Regions from separate parts of the Homo sapiens genome. Here region 1 is linked to region 2. The links are contacts of gene promoters, found by promoter capture Hi-C in blood cells and fetal thymus (Javierre and others, 2016). All regions are on one chromosome and are shown on one strand. The core of a region is centred on a gene start or on the middle of the fragment in contact, and the rest is flanking DNA. Distances in the headings are between cores, read along the strand shown. Region 1 overlaps COMMD8 (COMM domain containing 8). Region 2 holds the start of FRYL (FRY like transcription coactivator).

Region 1 (5,021 bases), core at 19-2,518, 1.3 Mb after region 2:
ACCTACCGGACAGCAGGTACAGAGCTAGGTGCTGGAATACAATGTGACAAAGACCGAAGCGGACCCTGCCTCCCCCCTTGAGGGTGGTTGGTAGGAAGAGAAATAACTGGGCGAGTTACTTTAGTTAGGATCGTCCCAAGAGGTGATGTACCCATTGACTTCCAGTCTGTAAAAGAACCTGGCTTGTAAGAATCTGGAAAAAGCAACCACATTCATTTGTTCAGCCAGTTTTTCATTGAAGTCTACCATAGATTGAGCGCCCCGATGGGATGAGGTAAATGGTGAGTGAGACACAGCCTGTGCCCTGGTGGAGCATCTTTTTTATAAGTCTCAATTTTGGCTTCCTGTTTCCTCTATTCCATTTATACTGGAGAAAGTGTGGAGGAGACAGAAAGGAATGAACTTACCTCCTGCCAGGGTCAAGAAAAAAAAACACCTAATTCTTTTCTTTGTTTTTGCAAGTGAGGAACCTGAAATGTCAGCAGAAATTTTGGCTAACTTGCCCAGGATTGCCCATCCAGTTAGTGGCAGAGCTGGAACTTATGCTCAGATCTGTTGATTCTGAGTGTTTTATTGGCTTTTGGCTCTCCTTGTCTTCACTCTACCCATTTAGATAAGGCCCATAACCTTTATTACCATATATGTCGATGACTTCTAAATCTTTAGGTCCAGCCAAAAATTTCTTCCTCTATGGTTCAAGAATGCCAGGTAAAAAACAAAACAAAACCCCAAAAACCCCAAACCAAAATCTCTTCCCTGAGTGTCAGGCTTCTGCCACAGGTACCTCAAATTCAGTATGCCCTTGCCTCAGCTCTTCTTTCCCCCTGGACCTACTCCTCCCGTAGCCTCATTTTCGGTTTGTGGCACCACCACTTTCACCCAGCCCCTCTCAACCTGACGTTCTAGGTTTCATCCATGGCCCCCCCTTTTCACATCTCTTCTACCTCTTTACTGCCTCCATTTTGAGTGTCCTCAACAATTTAAGCCCCTTAATCTTTAACTCCTTAACTGAAAATTGAGGCATCTGGGCTCACCCTCTCTCTTACATCTTCCAACCTGTTAGCAAATATATGGAAAAATAATGCAAATGTGTGAATAGGTTGCTTCCCGGTTGAGCACAGATTGAAGTCTAGGCTCTTTTACTTTGTACACAAGGCCCTTTTTGATTTGGCTCCACCCACCTCTCCAGCCTTGTCTCCTGTCACCCCCTAGGCACCCCCCAAAATAACTTGCTTGTGTCTAGAAATGCACTTCTTCTCTCCTGTTTTGCTTGGCCAACTACTCATCCTTTTAAGATGGACTTTTCCTTGCTTCCTCTCTGTGCTCCTTCGTACCTTGTATATATTTTTATTATGGCCCCATCATTCTAAATTACATGTATTTGTATGTTTGCCTTTTTCGAATGGACTAAAGCTCTGTTATGGTAGGGCCTTATTTATTCTCAGTTTCCTCATTTGTAAAATAGAAATAATAACAATGGTTACTTCAGAGTTGTAGTGAGGATCAGTCCAGAGTGTGGTACCTAGTTAGGGATCCATAACGGTAGCTATTATAGTTTCTTTGCCATTAAATAAAGTCATTTCCATGACCTTTGTCATTAAATAAGGTCATTTCCATGACTTTATTTAATAACTGGGATGAAGTGTTCATTACATATTTGTGAATGAATAACAAACATATTCCAAAAAAGATAATGCTTTTATTTTTCAGTTTGAGTTCTGGGTTTTTTTTTTAGCATGGGGACAGTATAGGATAAGGTGTAGAGAATTTTGAATGGATTCAAAATTGAGTATGTTGATTTATGGTAAATAAAAATTCAGTTTGTATAGTATATTAGCCACCATTTGGAAGCAGTTGCTTGTGTTCTGGCATGTGTGGTGTTAGAGGGAAGGAGTTATTAGTTAAAATGGGGTGGAATATGATTATTTCCAAGTTATTTGGTTCAAATACTCCTCTTGTAAGATACAAATAACTTCAAGAAAGATAACCTTATTAAATGTTAAGTGCTTAGAATAGTACTGGCATTGTGTTATCTCAGTTAATAGATGCTGAAGGCATGAATTGGAGGAGGAGGACTAGTGATAATAATTAGAATGGTAACGAGGGCTAGCAATGTCTACATGTCTTTGTACATGCCAGGAAGATGCCAAGTGATTTGCACGTATTCTTATTCCATCCTTACAGCAAGATTAAGAGAATAGATGATATCCTCATTTAACACTTGAGGAAGCAGACTCAGAACATTTAAATAAAACTTGAAAATACTGAAACTGGGATTGGAACTGGATAGTTTTATTCCAAAATCCGTAGTCTTAATCACTATGCTCAGTTATACATGTGTTAGGCTTTCTGTTGCTGATATTAAGATACTAATAGGATAGAAAGGAAAGTAAAAAAAGGAAAAAAGTACTGGAGACTTTCTGGGAATACAGCAAAAGTAACTGCTGAGCTGGGTGCGGTGGTGCTCGTCTGCAGTCCTAACTACTTGGGAGGCTGAGATGGGAAAATTGCTTGAGTTCAGGAGTTCAAGGCCAGCCTGGGCAACATAGTGAGACCCTCAAAAGAAAAAAAAGTATGTTGTGAAAATGGAGGCAAAGCAAAATGAAGCTTATAGGCCTACAGTAAGAGACTTTGATATAAGTCCTATCCTTTTGTTTGGTCGTTGCTATAAATATGGAATCTTTTATATGTATCTTCCTTTTAGTTTTTTCATTATGTAATTTTTATAACAAAATTATTTTAGCTTCTGAAGGTCAACATAATAATAGAAAGTCTAGGATTTTTATGAGTTCTAATTTTTAATTAGAATAATCTTAAAAGTGGTTTATACATTTTAACTTAAGCTGGTCTTGCAGATAACATGAACATCTCCCAACATTTGTTTGTTAAGAGGAAGATAAATTTGTTTCATCATTTTACTTATAAGTACATTTATTTCCTTTTTTCTTGCTAGCTTCTTCACAAAATAATTGATGGCATTTGTGGTCGAGCTTATCCTGTGTACCAAGATTATCACACTGTTTGGGAATCAGAAGAATGGATGCACGTTTTAGAAGATATTGCCAAATTTTTCAAAGCCATAGTTGGTAAAAACTTACCTGATGAAGAGGTAACTTCTCTGCACATTTCTATAACTTACAATAAATAATGCTCAGGTTTCTCTCTGAGTTTTTTAGAGCAATGTATAATACAAGGGCTATCATCAGTAACAACAAATACCTTATAATTGTGAATGGAAAAATCTGTGGAAGTCCTAGGTTTTTGCAGTTTTGTTTTTGGTTGTTTTTACTCTTTTGTGAAACATTTAAAACATACAGAAGAAAACAAGAAATTATATAACTGACACCTACATTCACATTACCAGTTAAACAGGTGTTAACATTTTGCAATGTGTGTGTTTGTTTCAGAAATAAAGCATTACAAAGATAACCTAAATTCCCTTATCCCCCTCCTGGATATCCCACTCTTACCTAGAGATCACCACTCTTGAAGGTGGTGTTCATGTTTTGTATTATATATTGTGTGTATGTTTGAATCTTTTAGTGTATTGAAATTATTTGGGGTGTGTCAGTGTATAACTTGTAATAAAATGTAACATTTGTCTGCACTTGTAAATTGTTTTAAATGCAGCATTGTGTTTTACATTGATAAACATGGATCTAGTTAGTGTATTTTAACTCCTTGTAGTATTTGATGATAGGAATTAAATAGGATTTATTTATCTCCCTACTGACTAATGAATAGTCATTGCTTCTTTCATTATTACAAGTAGTGCTGCTATAAATGTTCTTTACATGTCTCCTTGTTCACACTCACACCAGCTTTTCTGGGGTAGATATCTTGAAGTGAAATTGCATGGTCATAGGATATCCTTCTTCCACTGAATTGCTTTTGCATCTTTGTCAAAAATCATTTGAGCTTGTGTAGGTTGCTCACTTTTCTAAAAATCAAGTTATGTATGTTTGTCATTGATTTGGTTGATATTCTGGATATAAGCTCATTGTTAGAAATATGTATTTTAAATATCTTCTATTATGTGCTTGCCTTTTTACTCTCTTAATGGTATCTTTTGGTGAAACAAGTTATGAAATTTAACAGATCTACTTTGTCAATATTTCTTTTGCTGGCTAATACTATTAATGTTTTGTTTCAGAAATATTTGTGCTGAAGACATGAAGATTCTTGGATGTATTCTTGTAGAAGCTTGATTGTTTTAGCTTTCACATTATGTTACTGATGCATTTTGAATTAATATTTGTGTATGGAGTGGAGGTCAAGTTCACAATTTTCTACATTAATATCTAGTTGACCATTTATTGAAATGACCATCCTTGCCCCACAATATTGCTGTGCTGCCTTTATTGTAAATCAAGTGGCCCTATATTTGTGCCTCTGTATCTCAACTCTTCAATGTATTCCATTAGTCTACTTTTGTATATTTGCCAATGCTATACTGCTTTAATTACTGTAGAATTAAAGCTAAATTAAATTATGTCTTCATATCTGGTAATAGAAGACCTTCATTCTCATGCTTCTTCAGGAGTGCCTTGGCTATTATATTTTCGGATAACCCTCTAGAATCAACTTTTCAGTTTTAACCTACAAACCTGCTGGAATTTTGATAGAGATCATTTATGGGGAGAATTGACATCTTAACAACATTTAGCTTTCCAAAGTTAAGAACATGGGATAGCCCTCTATTTATTTAGATTAGCTTTAGTTTGTCTCTCTCGTATTTTGTAGTTTTCAGTGTTGAGCTCTTGCAAATATTTTTATTTCTGAGTAAATGATGTTTTTGATCTTTAATTTTTCAGTAGTTTTTTGCTAGTATGTACAGTTGATTTTTATATACCTTGTGTCCCACAGCCTTTCTAAATTTGTTTACTGTGTCTAATTGTATACAGATTTTTTGGGGGGAGATTGTATATAATAATTTTCTTTTTCAACTTTAACATCTTTCATTTATTTTTCTTACCTTAGCGCATTGGCTAACACCAGTAGTCAGTGTTTCTTTTAAAAAA
Region 2 (5,351 bases), core at 312-2,811:
GAGGATGTGTGTATCTGTGAAGGCCATATAAATGCAACCCAGATAGTTCATCGTCTCTTGCCCCCACTAGTGATACCTAAACCACCTTCCTGCAACGTTCCCTTTTGTTTCCTGCTCTTTCATATTTTCGGGAATCCTCATGAAATTTTTCACCTGTATTTGGGGAAAAGTCCTATGAACTACCAACTACTGATGTTTACTTACCCTTCTCTGTCATCATCAAGCCCCTTTTCTAGGGTACTGCTGAGCACTGACACTTCCTTGGCACCATTAGATTATACTGGGGTATCACTGCAAATGTACTAAAGCCCCCGGGGTACACAGTCTTCAAGGTTCATCGGCAAAGAGGGAGAGAACACATAACCATTTTCCCCTAACATTCTTAGATGGGTACCGAAGCTGTACCTGTACTCAATTTTAGTGGAAATAAACCTTTTAGTTCTTACAGCTCCAGTGGGAAACTGGGGAAACTCTAAAGCAGACCCCGCACTAGGCTTCCCCATAATTTCTTCTCTTTTCAATGCGTGAGGTTCTGCTCCATGGTCAAGCTTCTGGTATCAGATTCCCTCTTTCCCTTAGACAGACTCGTTTTCTCCTGAGAGGCATCTCAGTTGTTCAAGTGACCTGGGGTGTTTTTCCTACAGTTCTAGCAAGGGGGAACGAAGTCCTACACTTTGAGGATGGCATAAGGGTACCATCTACTTAATTTTTTCAAAAAAGTAACAGGTCTCGTGGAAACGCGGGAACGTCACAGAGGACGTGACTTAAACGGAACTTGTAATGGAAATGATTTTCTAAATGAACAATTGCGAGACAAGCAAGGAAACCTCCAGGTTTGCAGATAACTTGATTAAAGCTCTTCCGGGTGGCAAAATGCCAGTGCAATCAATGGTATGAGTAGGGCGGACAGTGGATGAAACTTGTTGAGTAAATCTCAGGAGGAATTAGCACTGGACTTTCAGGTATTCTAACTCAATTCTAACCATTCCATTCTCTGGATCATTGGATAAGGTTCCGCAGGATCCGGGCGCCAGCTCTGGATACATTACTGATCGGGAGAAAATTTTGAATTTTTCTCTTGTCCCTTTCCAGCTTTCCTCAATATAGGATATGAGTTTGTCCTCGACCCCTAACAACATTTAAAGGTAAAGTCGCTCCTAGAAGGCAAAGCGGAGAGGACTTTGCGGCTGTGTTTCTCAAGCCCGTAAAGAGAGAGTAATAATGGTAGGGAGCGTGCAGACTAGCTCTTTCCTTGCCCAATCAAGTGTACAGGAAGATGTCCTTTCACCAATAAAAATAAAGTTCGCTTTCCGGAGGCGGGAGGGTGAGCCTTGACTGCCAGGGCTCCAAAGCAACGTTAGAGGCGAGGGCAGAGAATGATTAGAGGGAAGACCAACCCGGGAAAAGGGGCGGGGAGAAGGTAGGAGCAACTTTGAGCGGCGGCTGGCCAGGCCAGTGGAGGGCGAGGACTGCTGTTCCTGTTGTAGTGTTTCTCGCCAATCAGGAAGGCCAGGGGGCGGGCGGGGTAGGGAAGGGGTGGGAAGACCTCGCAGCACAGCCGGGCGCCCGTCGGGCTCTGGGAGAGAGCGAGAGAGAAATCCGGTTAAAATCAGAGTCGGAGGGAGGTTTAACCACAGATCGGTTCCGATCGGATTATTCCTTAAAGGGGACGCGCCATTGTCAAGAGAACGGAGCCAGGGGCCCGAGGGCGGGGACCGGCGGCGCTGGAGGAGCGAGGCAGCTGTACTAGGACTGGGAACGGGTAGGTGTTGACTGGGGAAAGGCGCTTCATTTTACTTTCTCTTCCAGCCCCGGGGCAGGCGCCGGGATGCCCGCCGCCGGCAGCCCAGCCTGGGCGGGAGACGAGGTCGTCGGCCCTCGCCAGCTGTCCTTCCTGGTGGGCGCCGAGGGAAGGCGGTCCAGGATGGCTGGCAAGCGGCGCGGCGCGGCCCGGGCCGGCGCTCGTAACGGACACCAAACCGCGGCGCAACCCCAGCCTCAACCGAAAGCCCGCCCGAGCTCCGGCGGTTCCGCCGGCAGCGCCGCGCGCCCGTCTCTCCCGCACGTCCCCTTCCCCTCCAGTGCCTGGCTCTTCTCGCGCGCGCCCGGGTACCCCTCGCGCGCCGCCTTCTCGCGCGTCCTGCTCTGGTCGCGCGCCGCCTCGCCACCGACTCGCGGGAGCCGCCCCGCGGGAAGGAAGGCGGTGGCAGAGGTGGAGGAAGACCGGCGACCACGGCTCCGCCGCCTCGGCTGGGAAGGGAGGGCTGAGGAGCAAACTTAGCGCGGCGGCTGGCGGGCCCCGGCGGGCAGGGCTGGCGGGGACCGGCGGAGCGCGCCAGCCCAGCCGGGCATTGTCCGCCTTTTCCCTTGCTCTGGTCTCTCCGCCCACTGCTCGCGGTCCTGGGGAGGGGTGCGGGCGCTGTGCCCGCGCAGCCCCGGGCCGTTGGCGTACCCCGGGACCCGGAGTCTTCCGGAGCCGGAGCCAGCCCTGCGGACACCGCGGCCACCGCCCGCGAGCTGACTCGGCCTGTAGATTGCCTGCTGCTCTCAGCCTCGGCACCGGGCAGGGTGCCTGGGCGCTGAGCTCTTCTTTGCAACTTTTATTTGCCGTTTGATGGAAGTTGTTGCTTCCGGGCGGCAGGTTCTTTGGGCACAGCCTGGTTTCCTGCGTTCTGGAGAGGCTGGTTTCTAGGGCGAAATGATTTATTGCTGCCGGTCTTTCCTGCCATCCTAGTTTAGTTCCTCGCCACCTAAAATCGCATTTTTGTGGATTTGCAATGATATGGGAGCATTAATCTTTCCTAGGCCAAGATTTGAAAAGAAAAAAAAGGGGGTGGGGGTTAGGGTGTGTGCTGGTGAGGAGCAAGAGTTCTTAGTAGAGCTGAGTTTGCCCTTACCTTTGAACTGCGGAAAATATTACTTCGATTCACTGGCTGGGGTTCTTTTGGAAGGGTAGGGGAAAAAAGACACAGCAAGACAGGTTGCCAGGGTCTGTCGGATTGGGGGGGAAAAAGGGTTTTGATGGAAGTAAAGTTGGTTTTATAAAATGCTGTGCTGCCTAGGAGATATCGTCTGTAAAGTTGATTCTGCTACTGAATTTACAGCCATTATAATTAGTACCAACAGCTTTTACTATTGATAAAAACTAGTATAAGACGTCTTTTCATCTTGAGCATTATCACTCTGCTTAATCTGTCAATACTTGCCGAGGAAATCAGAGATAGCACATTCCTTGTTAGAGGCCTTAGTGAAGAATGTTTTCATAAGCATTCATTTTTGACAGTTTCTTCTTGTGCAATACTTTATGTAGAGTACTTGCATGTGCAAGTTACAACCGTATAAACAAAGTAGCAGTGGGTGTGTTATTCTCTGGTCTTTTTTCTGCTACTCATTATCAAAAATAGCATTCCATCGTGTCTTGTCTTCCACTCTGAATTATTTTGTAAAATTAGTTCTCTAAAAGAGGGAATTCTGTTGGAACATGTGACCCAGTTTTTTTTTTTTTTATTAAAGCAGTCCAACTTTTTAAAGCGTTCATCGATTAATTTATTGTCTAGTAACTTCGGAGTGGTGTGGAACATTGTAAATTCACAGGCTCAGCAGTAACAATAGAGAAACTACTTGGGAAATTGGAAGCCAATATCAGATAATGTTTGAAATAAAAATCTATTCTTCTCACAGAATTTAGGAAATAAAGACACACAAAAACAAATTCTTTGGGTTCAAGTGATCCTCCCACCCCAGGCTCCGTAGTAGCCGGGACTACAGGTGGGCACGACTGCGCCTAGCTAAAATTTTTATTTTTTGTAGAGATGGTGGTCTCACTTTTTAATTTTTCGTATAGACGGCTGGTCTCCAACTCCTGGCCTCAAGCGATCCTTCTGCTTTGGCCTCTCAAAGTGCTGGGATTACAGACTGAGCCACCGTGCTTGGCCGTTTGTAGTAATCTTGATGGTATCTGGCATTGTTTCACCTAATATTTCTTCTTTTTTGTTTTTTTCTTTGATCCATTTCTGTGATAAGGATGTCAGGCAAGCAGCTAGGCATAATCTTCCTTCCCATCTCATAATAAAAGGAGACGGTTAAACCAAGTTTTTAAATGTCTGTCTTTGTTTACTTACCAATTTATTTAAACAATAAAAGAATTTCTCAACTTTTAGAAGAGAACATATGAATAAAACATTCAGAAATAATTATCTTTGAAATATCTAGACTGTATTTCCTGAAAAAGACTTTTTCCTCTTTTGTGCTTTCTACATTGTTTTAAACACATTGTTTTATATGCACACATTTCTTGAGTTATGAACTGTTTCTTGAGATCCTTGGGAGCCAGAATTATCCTCCATTTCTGTGCAGATTCACTGTATCACCTCGGACCTTTTTAGTACCCAATAAATGTCTTATTTTAGGTCTTTGTGACAGAAAAAGATAATGTCCTGTAAAGGCCGCTTGAGTTATTTAATTTTTTAAATAAACACCTTTCTGAACATTTTATACTAAAGGCCAGCAATTGGCTTACTGTTGGGGGAAGATATGTCAATCTAGAGGTTCTTTGTTCTGTGTACAAAATTGTGATTTGTTTATAATATCTGTTCCACAGACATCTTTTGTGATGGTGAACACATTGTCACAATTATTCACAATTATTCAGGACTAGGTTTTATGTGTCAATAAGATCTGTTGAGTATACTTTTATTTAAAGGGTATTATGTAAAGTAGAAACCGATGACAGAGTATTTATGGAGATAAAGTAGAACTGGATGACAGTCTTGCTCTAAATAGTTTTTGTTTTTTTTTTAAATTAGACCCAGAGCCAGCAAATCAGATGTATACAGTTTAATGAGAAGATGCAAAATTACGATTCTTAGGAAAAGGACAGTGGGTATGTCAGTGCAGTAACAAGTACAAAGTAACAGTGACACAGGATTCATGTAATTGAAATGATTGAAGTGGACAAGTTTTCATGGCTTTAGCAGATTTTAGAAAATATATTTTTAAATACATTTTTTAATAAAGTAGTTTTGGGGGTAGACTAGGTATATGTTGTCTACTCGAGCTATTTTTATGTATAAAATATTTTGGGGAGACAGAGTATGTGCTCTGAATTTCAACTATTGTTACATAGTGACAGGGATCATCCATCTGGCCCTGCTCAGATGTCACCTTGTCTGCAAGCTCTTCCTCTGTTCTCCTAATCCCAGGTGATTGTTCTTTGTTTTTGCTCCTGTAAAATCCTCTTACAGTACAAGCCATGGTCTGACTTACAGTATGGCTGTGTGTATATTTCTTTTATTAGATTGTGGAGTTTGCTAAAATTAACAGAAGTTAGAGCCCTTTCATTTTTACTGTTG

Evidence for each region. Contacts are between HindIII fragments. The CHiCAGO score rates a contact against its expected background, and 5 or more counts as called.
Region 1: a fragment that was not itself captured here is called in contact with the fragment with the promoter of FRYL in region 2 in 2 of 17 cell types (naive CD8 T cells and naive CD4 T cells); the score reaches 7.6 in naive CD8 T cells.

What each region holds. Positions count from the first base shown.
Region 1 is chr4:47,458,232-47,463,252 of GRCh38, reverse strand. It overlaps COMMD8 (COMM domain containing 8), which reads left to right. Exons shown (of 5, transcript NM_017845.5): 2 at 2,954-3,109. Among named protein-coding and RNA genes, the nearest start is that of COMMD8, 3.0 kb to the left of the region's middle. The HindIII fragment of the contact is 2,682 bases long and covers 1-2,609 here.
Region 2 is chr4:48,776,489-48,781,839 of GRCh38, reverse strand. FRYL (FRY like transcription coactivator) reads left to right here and starts at 1,561. Exons shown (of 64, transcript NM_015030.2): 1 at 1,561-1,762. RefSeq lists silencers at 1,516-1,625, 1,716-2,595. The HindIII fragment of the contact is 8,638 bases long and covers 551-5,351 here.